Linked DNA regions of Homo sapiens: region 1 is linked to region 2. The links are contacts of gene promoters, found by promoter capture Hi-C in blood cells and fetal thymus (Javierre and others, 2016). All regions are on one chromosome and are shown on one strand. Each heading gives the region's core, a stretch centred on a gene start or on the middle of the fragment in contact. The rest is flanking DNA. Distances are from core to core; before and after follow the strand shown.

Region 1 (5,621 bases), core at 1,383-3,882, 340 kb before region 2:
TGTTACACAAACCAATAATATAAAAGCTTCTGAGAGAGCTCATAGAAGACATCTAACATTTTAATTTATGTATTCATTCAATAAATGTCTTCTCATACTTCCTATGCCCAGCAATATAATAGGTACTTGTGACATGCAAAAAGGACTCCATTCTTAAATAACTTGAAGTCTATCTAGGGGTTGAAGTGGACAGTTTTCATATTAATTATTCGTGACCCAGCATGGAGCACCTCTTTCTCAGGGAAGCCTCATCAACTGAATACGTTGAGTCCCTGGGTGCATGCTTCTATAGCAACCTGTACTCCTGCTTTTATCACATTTTAAAATAATTACTTGTTAATGTCAATGTTTCTCATAACCCTTGTTCTGTCTATTAGGATATGCATTCTGAAGCTGGGCTACACTGGTGATCATAGGCAAGTTACTTAAACTCTCTGGGACTCAGCTGCCTCATTTATACTATGGTGATAGCAAGAGTATCTACCACTTCATAGAGTTGTTGCTCAGGTCAATTAATTCATAGATGTGTATTGTTCATAAGAAATAAAAGAAATAATATATTGACCATGTAATAATTGTTGATCCCTCTTAGGAAACTCTTTACTAAGTCAAGTTCAATGGACAAAGCATTGTATTCAGAGCCAGAAAATTCATATTCTAGACCTCATTGCTCCAACTCAGTTGTAGGTATCAGAAAATCAAGTTTACTTGCTTGATAAAATATTGGGGCTTTAGTCTAATCTGAAACTCTGAAAAAGTGCCTTTACATCCCGATAGCTAACTCAAATAGCTCGTTTAAGTGGAAATACTTTAACGAAAAGGATCATTATTTCATGCATCTTTATAATGTCCTCTGTCCTAAGCACTGTCTGGCCCATGATGGGTGCTCATAAATGTTTGTTAAATCGAACAGAATATCATCAGATCAAGCTTCACAGAAGGTCATGGGCTTAGACCCAGGTGCAGACAGTGTAATATAAACCTCATGGGAAACTGTCAAAGCACAGCTCTCATGCTATGATATAAGAATTCTTTGGCAAATGACTTTCTCCATGATCTCTCATGGCTTATTTGTAGAAAGGGAAAAACCAGGTGTCCTGACTACTGTTCCACTGACTCCAAAAGGAGTACATCAAATACATTTTTCAGACAATAACTTGGAACATAATGATGGCCAAAAACAACTTCTGTGATAATAACTTGATTCTATGATAGCAAATATTAAGGTAATACATACAGACAAGTCAAACTGACAAATTTCTACCCTCTCTCTAATAATAAATCAAAATGGCTAACAGGAGAAAAGCAATCATGAGTTAATGACTTTATGTCATGGGTCTCAAAAAGGTTGATCATTATACAACCTTCTCTACCTAAAAGAATATTGAGTAACGACATCTTCAACAGTTGCATTGCAGATACGTACCATAATTCATTTAATCAAATCCTCTATATCAATAAACACTTAGGTTACTCTTAATTTTTTAAATGTAAACATCCTTAATACATAAATAGCTTTTAAAAATTAACAGTAAAAACAAAAATATTAATACTGAAGAATGACCATCATAAATAATTGCATGCATATATTTGAGCATTGGTTCTATTATGTCTTTAGGCAATAGTCTAGAGATATGAATGTGAGTTGAGGAATATTCAGTTTGCATTTTTGTTATTTTTATTTTAATTTTGATAGTTTTGGGGGAACAGGTGGGTTTTGGTTACATGGATAAGTTCTTTAGTGGCGATTCCTGAAATACTGGTGCACCCATTACCCGAGTGGTATACACTGTACCAATTGTAGTCTTTTATCCCTCACACCCTCCCACCCCTTCCCCGTGAGTCCCCAAAGTTCTTTCTTGTGCGTTTGCAACTTCATAGCTTAGCTCCCATTTATAAGTAAGAACATAGGATATTTGGTTTTCCATTCCTGAATTACTTCACTCTGAATAATAGCCTCCAAATCCATCCAAATTGCTTCAAAGCCATTATTTCATTCTCTCTTTTTTTTTTTTTTTTTTTTTTTTGAGACGGAGTCTCGCTCTGTCACCCAGGCTGGAGTGCAGTGGCACGATCTCGACTCACTGCAACCTCTGCCTCCCGGGTTCAAGCAATTCTCCTGCCTCAGCCTTCTAAGTAGCTGGGATTACAGGCACCCGCCACCACGCCCAGCTAATTTTTGTATTTTTAGTAGAGACGGGGTTTCACCATGTTGGTCAAGCTGGTCTCAAACCCCTGACCTCATGATCCACCCGCCTTGGCCTCCCAAAGTGCTAGGATTACAGGCGTGAGCCACCGCGCCCGGCCCTTTTCGCTGAGTAATATTCCATGGACTATATATATCACATTTGGCTGGTTCCATATTTTTGCAATTGGGAAATGTGCTGCTAACTTGTCTCAAGAAATTTCTCCTGGAAGAGACTGTATCTCCATTCTCCTACCAACACTTTTATTATTTACCTTTTTATTGTGTCAATCTAATAGACTAATTAATCATCTTAGTTGGTTTAACTTGCTTTTATTTAGTCACCACCAAGGGTGACTATCTTTTCATTAGGTTCTTGTTTAGGTCTCAGCTTAAGTATCAGCTCCTCAGAGATGCCTTCTCTGAGTCTTTATCTAAAAAGCAGCCTCCTTGGTGTCATAGTGTCGTTTTCCTTTTCATTTTAAAAAATTATATGCTCATGTTTATTTTTCTCGAGCATTTTTTATGATTGATAAGTATTTTAATAAGATTTAATCACCACATCATATTACCTTTAATAATGATAGGCTCACATTGTTGAGAGCTATATGTTTTTCCTGTTACCATTTCATTTAATCCACTTAGCAACTCTGTGGGATAGGTACTATTATTATCTACATTCTACAGATGAGGAAACTGAAAGGTTACCTGACTGGCCAAAAATATCACAGCACTAGAATACAGTGCAGATGTCTGTGGCCTAGAGAAGTTAAGTTGCTTAAAAGGACACACAGCTAGTAAACTGAAGATACAACTCAAACTCCAGTCTGGGTTCTTCAGCTGCAATTTAGCCCACTCACTGACTAATCATTATAATTTATCTGCAGATATCTCTTTTCTAGATGTTTTCATTAGGATTCAGAATCAGGTTCTTAGAGCCACTTCCAAAAATTCCCTTTCACTTCAAACCACAAGGCTATCCTCAATTAGGAACTAATAATAGACTAGCAAAAAGGGTAAGAATATTTTACTTAGCCCATTATTCTCAGAGAAAGAATGGTAAAGGGGACTCAGTTTATTCTATGAAGCATTCCTTATGGAAAATTATGTACATGTGACATTCAACAACATAAGGGAATTTTCAAATGTAAATATTCAATCGATCATACATATGGCTTTCTCCTATTTTTTGGTTTCTCTTTCACTGACTGCTTCAATTCATTCTAAGTAAGCCTGGGAAAATATTTTTTTTTAATTCCTATTAATCATAGTGTTAACCCTAGGGGTTAAGACAGAGTATTTTGAAATGATATTTTTCCTAACCAGGGGGAAGGCCACAGGAGCCAGAATGGCTTGGGTTTCCAAACACAAAAAGCATAAATAAAATCAAACATTATCACACTATCAAACATTCATAAATCCTTTCACAATCCTGCTGCCATATTTCCTTTACTCTTTCATTTTTTTCCTGTTTCCTCTTTAAAACATTGCCAATAACTTAACTCCATTACTTTGATTTTTTCCATACCAAAAAAATTCCATGTGTACGGTTTTCCAGCATTTATGATTTTGACAAGTTTATTTCTTTGTCATCTTTTCTCCCTCATGGCACCTGTAAGAACCCTTTACCTTTAAATCTTACCATCATTTCTCAATGGTAGCTTCTTTTACTACCTCAGGCTCCCATGCAAAACCAGGTGGAAAAAGAAAACCCTCTAGAGTTTTCTTGATCATATCACTTTTAAAAGTCTTATTTGGATATTCACTTAAAAGAAAGTGTTAATATGATGATCTAGAAGTTTGCAAATCTCACTTAGGCTATTTAATATTTAGTGTTTAAAAATCTTCATCTCTAGGGGAGGTCTAAAAGTACATGATGCAAGGAAAAGAGAGTCTTACTCTTTGCCTTCCCATATATTGACACTGTCAATCCCTTAGGGCCACAAAGAAAGAACAGTATCCTCTAAACTACCCCTTCTTTATTCTACCACCTCATTGCTCATTAAAGTCACTTTTAAAACTATCTGAAAATAGCTCATTAAAGTCACTTTTAAAACTATCAGAAAATAGCTAAATGTTCCACTCAAAAGATTATGTAATTATATACTTCACAACATAGGCTTTCCAGGTGAGTGGATAAAGAAGCTTTGCATAGTAAATCCCATAAGCAGACCAGCAAAATCATCTAAAACAAAATTAGATGATAATTCCTCCAGCCCTGTTAGTGGAATTGCTTTAGTTTTAATACAGCACAATGTGTTCCGAATTCTAAAACATAATTCAAAATAAACAAAATATTATCAATAAGTAATTTTCCCTGAATCAGTTCTCTGGATCCAGACATGTCATTTGGTCTAATTTATGCTTTAACCTACCCACCACAGGATGAAGAGTGTTTCCAGCAAGCACATTTGTTTTTAGACTTTAAATTCAAAAAATGCAGCCATCCAGGAGTTTAAATGAATTCCCCGAAATGGACAGAGTCCAAACTGTGATGATTATAGAAGTAAAGCTCAAATAATCATCTTATAACCTTTATATCCAGTTTGGCTCAATTCTACTGAGAACTGTGAGAGACGGTTCTGGTGATAAGTAGATTAGATGATAAGCATCTGTTTGCCTGTCTTCTCTGACTTAGAAAAATACTGAGGAAAGACCATTTCTACGAATTTAATAATAATTGTGTTGCTTTTGGTTTCCTCCCTTTGCTTGTAACTCCAGAGAAAAACACCTCATTATCCTTAACCCTTCCAAATTCCTGTGGATGCTTCACAACCACTGGCTTCTATTTAATTTCTTTTGGATCTTTCAAAGTGTTAAGTATTTGGCTCCTCTATATATGAATATCTAATTATCCTAAGCACTGCTGAACTTCTAAAGTAACTACTTTTCTTTCTTTGATTTGCAGTTCTCTATACTGACTTCTTCAGTTCAACATCAAATGCCCCTGAATCCTCTTAAAAGCCAATCTACAATTGGAACTCAATTTCTCCCTTCTCTGGTTTCGTATTGCCTGCATTGTAGGTCTTTTGAAAGATAATTCTTTAAACCTCCTTGCATGTTAAGCAATAGACAAGAGCACAAAGAAGCAATTGAATTTGAGAAAAATTAACTAAAATAGCAGGCAGTACAACATAGTGATTAAGAAAATGACATTGGCAGCCAGGCGCAGTGGCTCACACCTGTAATACCAGCACTTTGGGAGGCCGAGGCAGGCAGATCATCTGAGGTCAGGAGTTGGAGACCAGCTTGGCCAACATGGTGAGAACCCGTCTCTAATAAAAATACAAAAATTAGCTGGGCGTGGTGGCAGGTGCCTGTAATCCCACCTACTCAGGAGGCTGAGCCAGGAGAATCGCTTGAACCTGGGAGGCAGAGGTTGCAGTAAGCTGAGATCGTGCCACTGCACTTAAGCCTGGGCAACAAAGTGAGACTC
Region 2 (5,561 bases), core at 1,421-3,920:
TCAGATAAACTATCTTTTTTTTTTTTCTGAATCTGGGCCCTTGGGCCTGAAAAATTTAACCAAGAACCAGCTATTTGAGTTTACTTTCATTTCCCATAGACATCTCAGAAGATGAGCCCTTATTACCATGGTTTCCAGCAAAGGGGCCATTTGGAGATGCCAAAGCTGATGGATGGACTCACTAAAATGCAAGAAAAAACAAACAAACAAAAAAAAAAAACACAGCCTAACCAGGAAAGAGGCATTTGGAGAAAGACTTCTAATTCTGTTTACTGTCCATGAAATCTACTTTTACTTAGATTTCTTAATTTCCTGTCTCTTGACAACATCTGGTTTGAGCTACAGAGGGCCTGGCTTCTGTGTTGAGATTTGTGTTTCCCTTACAAGTTTCATGTTGGTGAGCATATTGTTAGCCTCAGCACAGCCTTGATGTTCAGAAACCTTTTTATTTACTCCATTGGGTACACTGGAGGAGCCTAACTTCATTTGCTCTCATGCTTATGCTAATTCTGCTCATTCTCACATCTATATTTTGTTCACTTGTATCATCAGCCTGTCATCCGCAATACTCCTCACTGTCTCTCCACTTATCTAAATCTACGCTTCCCATGGTCTTTTCTAACATCTCAAAAACCTTCTCTGACACTTGTAGCTTGCAGAATCGTATCTGTCTTGGTAAATATTATGGCACATCTACAGGACCTCATGTATTCCCTGCTACTCCCACTCCTGCAATTTTGCTTCAGCCACACTGGCCTCTTTGCTGTTTTGTTAACTCGCCAGGCACACCTCAGCCTTAGGGCTGTTCCATCTGCCTGAACTGCTCTTCTCCAAGGATTCTACGTTGCTCACTTCCTTGCCACCTCCAGGTCTTTGGCTAAATATCACCCCCTTAGTGAAGACTTCTTTGACAGTTCCATTTATAAATGGAAAATGGTGGGAGGTAGCTTTGAAGATGGCTCCCAATGATCTTCTTATGCTGGAACTCAAGTTCTTGTATGAGGACAAGTGGTAGGTTTTACTAATTTAACAAAGAAAATACCTGTATTATTTCGGTGCCAAATATTTACTTTCAATGCCCTTTATATATTTTGCCTCAAACTATACTTTTTTTCCATTTCTAATTTTCAATTAATTTATATCCAGGTCTTAGCTTGTACTCACCACTAATCTATATAATAGAAGAAACATATATTTTTCAATATCCTTGAAGACTCTTGTTCTCTCTCATGCTGAAATTCTTGTTGAGAAAAATGCATTAAAATAGAATATTGAATTCCTCTCCCAAAGCAGTCTTTTCTTGCAGTTTCAAAGGTTGTCAGTCTTGTTGTATATGAGACTAATAATCTTAGATTTATCACAATTATCGTGTTCTAAAAATAAACAAGCAGGATTACATCTCTAAGTTACTCAGGCTCTCTTTCTCTTTCTCTCTCTTTTGATTTGAATTGAACTCTGGACCTTGTTCACTTTTAAATTCTTTTTGGCTGAATTTCAGGAATTCCTTAAATGTATTCTGCAAAACAGCTGTGGTTTGGGTACTTCATGTTCCTTTATTGGTTAAAATCTGACATAAAGAGTGGCTAGTCTACATTTCCCATACTAAAGTAACAAAGGTGCATTCATACATTTTTTTCTTCTTCAGGATCTGGCTCTTACTAGCCATAAGAGTAATATTTAGCAGAAATACTCCAATACTCTTTTTCTAAAGACCATTCAGTCCATGTAATACACATGATCAAAATTCATCTGGCTTATAGAAATGTTATTGTTTACTACCTAAATATACCAACAAGGAAAACTGTTCAATTATATATGTCAGAGAATTCGTGGCATCCAGAGAGCAAAGTTTTACAAGCTCACACTTTTCTGACTAAATACTCAAAACAAAATTTTAAGATTTTTAAATGATAAGAAAAAAAAAAAAGCTTTAGAGGGATTAAGGTGAAAACAAAAGGAGAAAATTCTTCACTTTCAATTTATGTTAAAATAAATCTAGAAAAAATAGATCTCTTATTTCCTTTCAATGATTATAGACAACTATAAAAAAAAGTTAACGTGTATTTTCTCTGAGCTTTTTAAGAGGGGGGTATAAAATACATATTTTTCAATATTTGCAATTATATGTTCATAAGTGCATACAGGATGCAAAAATCTGGTTTTGAAAGACATTGCAGAATACTCCATGTGGTATGAATATAATAAAGCCACTTTTAGACATTTACAAATATAATAGCAGGCAAGGGCTGTTTAACAGACTCTGTAAACACCAATGTGAGACTACTTTTAACCAAAGCTTCAAAATAACTTAAGGAATATGACACACTGTTTGATTCCTACTTAAAGCACTTGGATAAAAAATTAAATTATCTTAATTGCATTTAATTGATCATTAATATTTACGTTTGCTGGAAACAGAGTGTTGCTGCTCCCCAAACACAGATGCCAGCAAGAGCAAAACATAGGCTGAATGACATTGTATCCATAGCAATAATAGCACTTACCTTTATTCACTCTCCCCACAGAGAATCTATGAGCTAGGTGCTTTCAGCTGGGCAATGGTAGAGAATGCTCTTTAGTTAATAATAAAGGAAAGAAAAGCTCCAGACACCAAGAACCTGGGTTAACCATTGACACCGGTTTGTTCCTACAGTTCCTCCCTGGGAATCTACATAGGTAGCCCCTGGCGTCTTATCAAGCAAGCCATAGCCAGTCAGCTGTGGCAGTGATTACGTCACCACCTCTGTACCTCTGGAGGAGGTACAGTGTGAAGGTCACCCAAGTATATCCTGACTAAGTTTTTACTTGATCAGGGATACAAAGGAGGAAGATTTGCTGGGCCAGAACTATGCTCAACAATGCCTGTAAGTGACTCAAATATTTACAGACAGGATTGTTGAGAGACGACCTATGGAAATGCTCCTGCTAGTTTTCAGACTCTGTTGGAATAGTACAAATAAATCCCTTTCATCAGAACTCTTTGTCTACATCTTAACAGCTGAGGATTGGGATTGCATGCTGACGAAAAGCGAGACAGGATAATGACAGGTAGCTAAGCATCCATTCAGTCTTTTATTTACCAAACCTTTAATGATTATTTTTCCTGTGCTGCCTAGTTCCAAAGAACATGAGTTCACAGTTGATTAGCCCTCTGACTAATCAACATGGATGGCAGAAATTGGGGTTGGAAAGTCTTCCTTTCCTCAACCCCAGGAATCAGAGCTCGAGCCTGAGATGGTGAATACAATGCAGGCTGTGGTATAGGTTTTGCCTGGCATTGAGTCCTAATGGGTTAAATAAAATGGTGAGGTGATCCCGTGGTCAGTGCTCTCCAGGAGGTAGAAAAGTGAGTGATCAGGGAAGAGGTAGACTTATAATGCTAGAATCAAGAGAAAGATCCAGAAAATGTGAAAAGCAGCCATGGGGAACTAAACAAATAGCAACCCTAGGCTCTTCAGAACCTGGGGGAGTTGTGTCCAGGAATGCTCAATAGAAGTGTTATGCTAGCAAGGAATTAGTTTTTCCTTTGCTTCACAGAGCGGTGGCAGCCAGGGGATCTAGGGAACCACATCAGGCTTGGTTAACACTGCAAATTTAAGAGGCCTTTTCTAGGTTCTGACAATCGTTGCTGTTTGACGGTTGTTAGAGTTTTGTTTCCATTTTTAAAAGCATGAACACTTGAGGAAGTGGACTTCTATGTTGGCACCGCCACTTACTAGCTGTGTGACACTGAGAAACTGCTTAACCTTTCTGCAACTCCATTTTCTCAACTGTCAAATGGGGATGATAATAGCAACAACGACAACACCTACCACAGATAGATAATTCGTGTTCCAAACTCATAGCTGTCACTAAGGTATACATATTCTGATAGGAAGACCTATTTTGCAATCTGTTACACAATATCTGCAGAAGAGTTTGAACTCTCCAAGGGACCTATCTTTTCATTCATCCATAAATCTCAGGTAAGCAGTGAATGCAGAGGTTGCCTTTTCTGTTAAAAAAAAAAATTGAAGACTAAACAAATGCCTACATTTCCATAACAATTGCAGCAACTCTCATTGTGGTTTATCCATGATGTTGTTCAATATTATCACTTAATGCTGCTCAATTACTGCCTTGTTTGAAAGCAGAGCACACTTTGTTAGAGTTCTATCTCAAAAGACTTAAAAAAAACACACACGCAAAAATGGACAGGACTCCATCTGCTCTGCAAATACAATTTCAGGAAAGGTGATTTTATGTGGGTGAGCATTTAGATTGATCTGAGAAGACGAGGCATCTAAACACAGCGTAAAAACAGACCATGGAGAAGAGCAAGACGGGAGGCAAGATGGGGAAACTAGATGGATTCCCAACTCCAGCTGAGTCAGATCGCCATTGCGTGGCTTCATTCCTTTGTTTGAAGTAAATTCCCAGAATATCAGACACACCCATACTCACATGTAAGTAGAAAAACACTTTCTAAAGCCAAATAAATAAAAATGATATCTGGATTGGCTTTTCTGTTACATGTCTCTGCCTCCTCAGTCTACCTTAACTGATAATTAACTTCATTGAAGTTCAACTTTTGTGAACTTTAATCCTCCCCCAAACAGAAAGACAAACTGAGGCAAGTTGAGGAGGCATGTTCAAGATTTGTCAAATTACAAGAATTTGTTACTTGAATGTAAGTGATAAATAATTATCTCTTTCAAAAATCTGTAATGTATTGCTGTTCTGTGATTTTAGTATTGGCCTAAGAGGAAGTTACATTGTACAAAGGGGTTACTTGTTAGAGAGAACACTCTAGCTCCGTCACTGGAAGACTGTGGCTTGCTTCCAGTTTTTGTAAGGACTCCCAGCTAAGAATGGTTTTTACAATGATAAATAGCGGGGGAAAAGTAAAAGAAAACTAATATTTGTGACATGAAAATGATGTGAAATTCACATTTCTATGTCTGTAAATCATGTTTATTGGTAAATATGCCTATCCCTATTTTTTTACTTACTGTCAATGAAGGCATCATATTACACAACAGAATTCAGTGACCTTCAAGACCTCAACAGAGACTGTGGTCCTTAAAGCCTAAAATATTTTGTATCTGGCCCTTTACAGAAAAAAAAAACAAAAACAAAACTAGCTAAGCCGTAAAATTTACTCTTCTCCAAAAGTAATGTTCCTCTTTTCTGATTAATGATTTTCCTCTCACGGTTAAGTCCAAGTCAACTGCATTTCTATGACTTAAAATCCTATCTTTCCTTCAATATTCCTTTTACTAAGTCTTTCCTTGCCTACTATAAATATCAATAAATAGTTTATTTCAAAATTAATAATAATAAAAGAATAATACTCTTTAAAGGCACGATGTTTTTCAATCTATATATTTTAGCTTTTAGTTGCATGTCTTATTTCCTCTACTAAATTCTAAATATTTGTGGTTAGGAACTTACTGAATCTTACTCATCTTTTTTTTTTTAATTTTTAATTTTTGTGTGTTTTCAGATGGGGTTTTCCTATGTTGTCCAGGCTGGTCTCAAACTCCTGGACTCAGGCAATCCTCCCGCCTCAGCCTCCGAAG

The links. The method cuts DNA at HindIII sites, captures the fragments that hold promoters and counts their contacts. A CHiCAGO score of 5 or more calls a contact.
Region 1: a contact is called between a fragment that was not itself captured here and the fragment with the promoter of KCNJ16 in region 2, in 1 of 17 cell types (monocytes). The highest score is 6.0, in monocytes.

What each region holds. Positions count from the first base shown.
Region 1 is chr17:70,413,639-70,419,259 of GRCh38, reverse strand. No RefSeq gene overlaps it. Among named protein-coding and RNA genes, the nearest start is that of KCNJ2, 250 kb to the right of the region's middle. The HindIII fragment of the contact is 3,400 bases long and covers 933-4,332 here.
Region 2 is chr17:70,072,334-70,077,894 of GRCh38, reverse strand. It overlaps KCNJ16 (potassium inwardly rectifying channel subfamily J member 16), which reads right to left and starts at 2,670. Exons shown (of 4, transcript NM_170741.4): 1 at 2,505-2,670. LOC105371881 (a long non-coding RNA gene) reads left to right here and starts at 3,088. Exons shown (of 3, transcript XR_934952.3): 1 at 3,088-4,669. The HindIII fragment of the contact is 12,238 bases long and covers 2,299-5,561 here.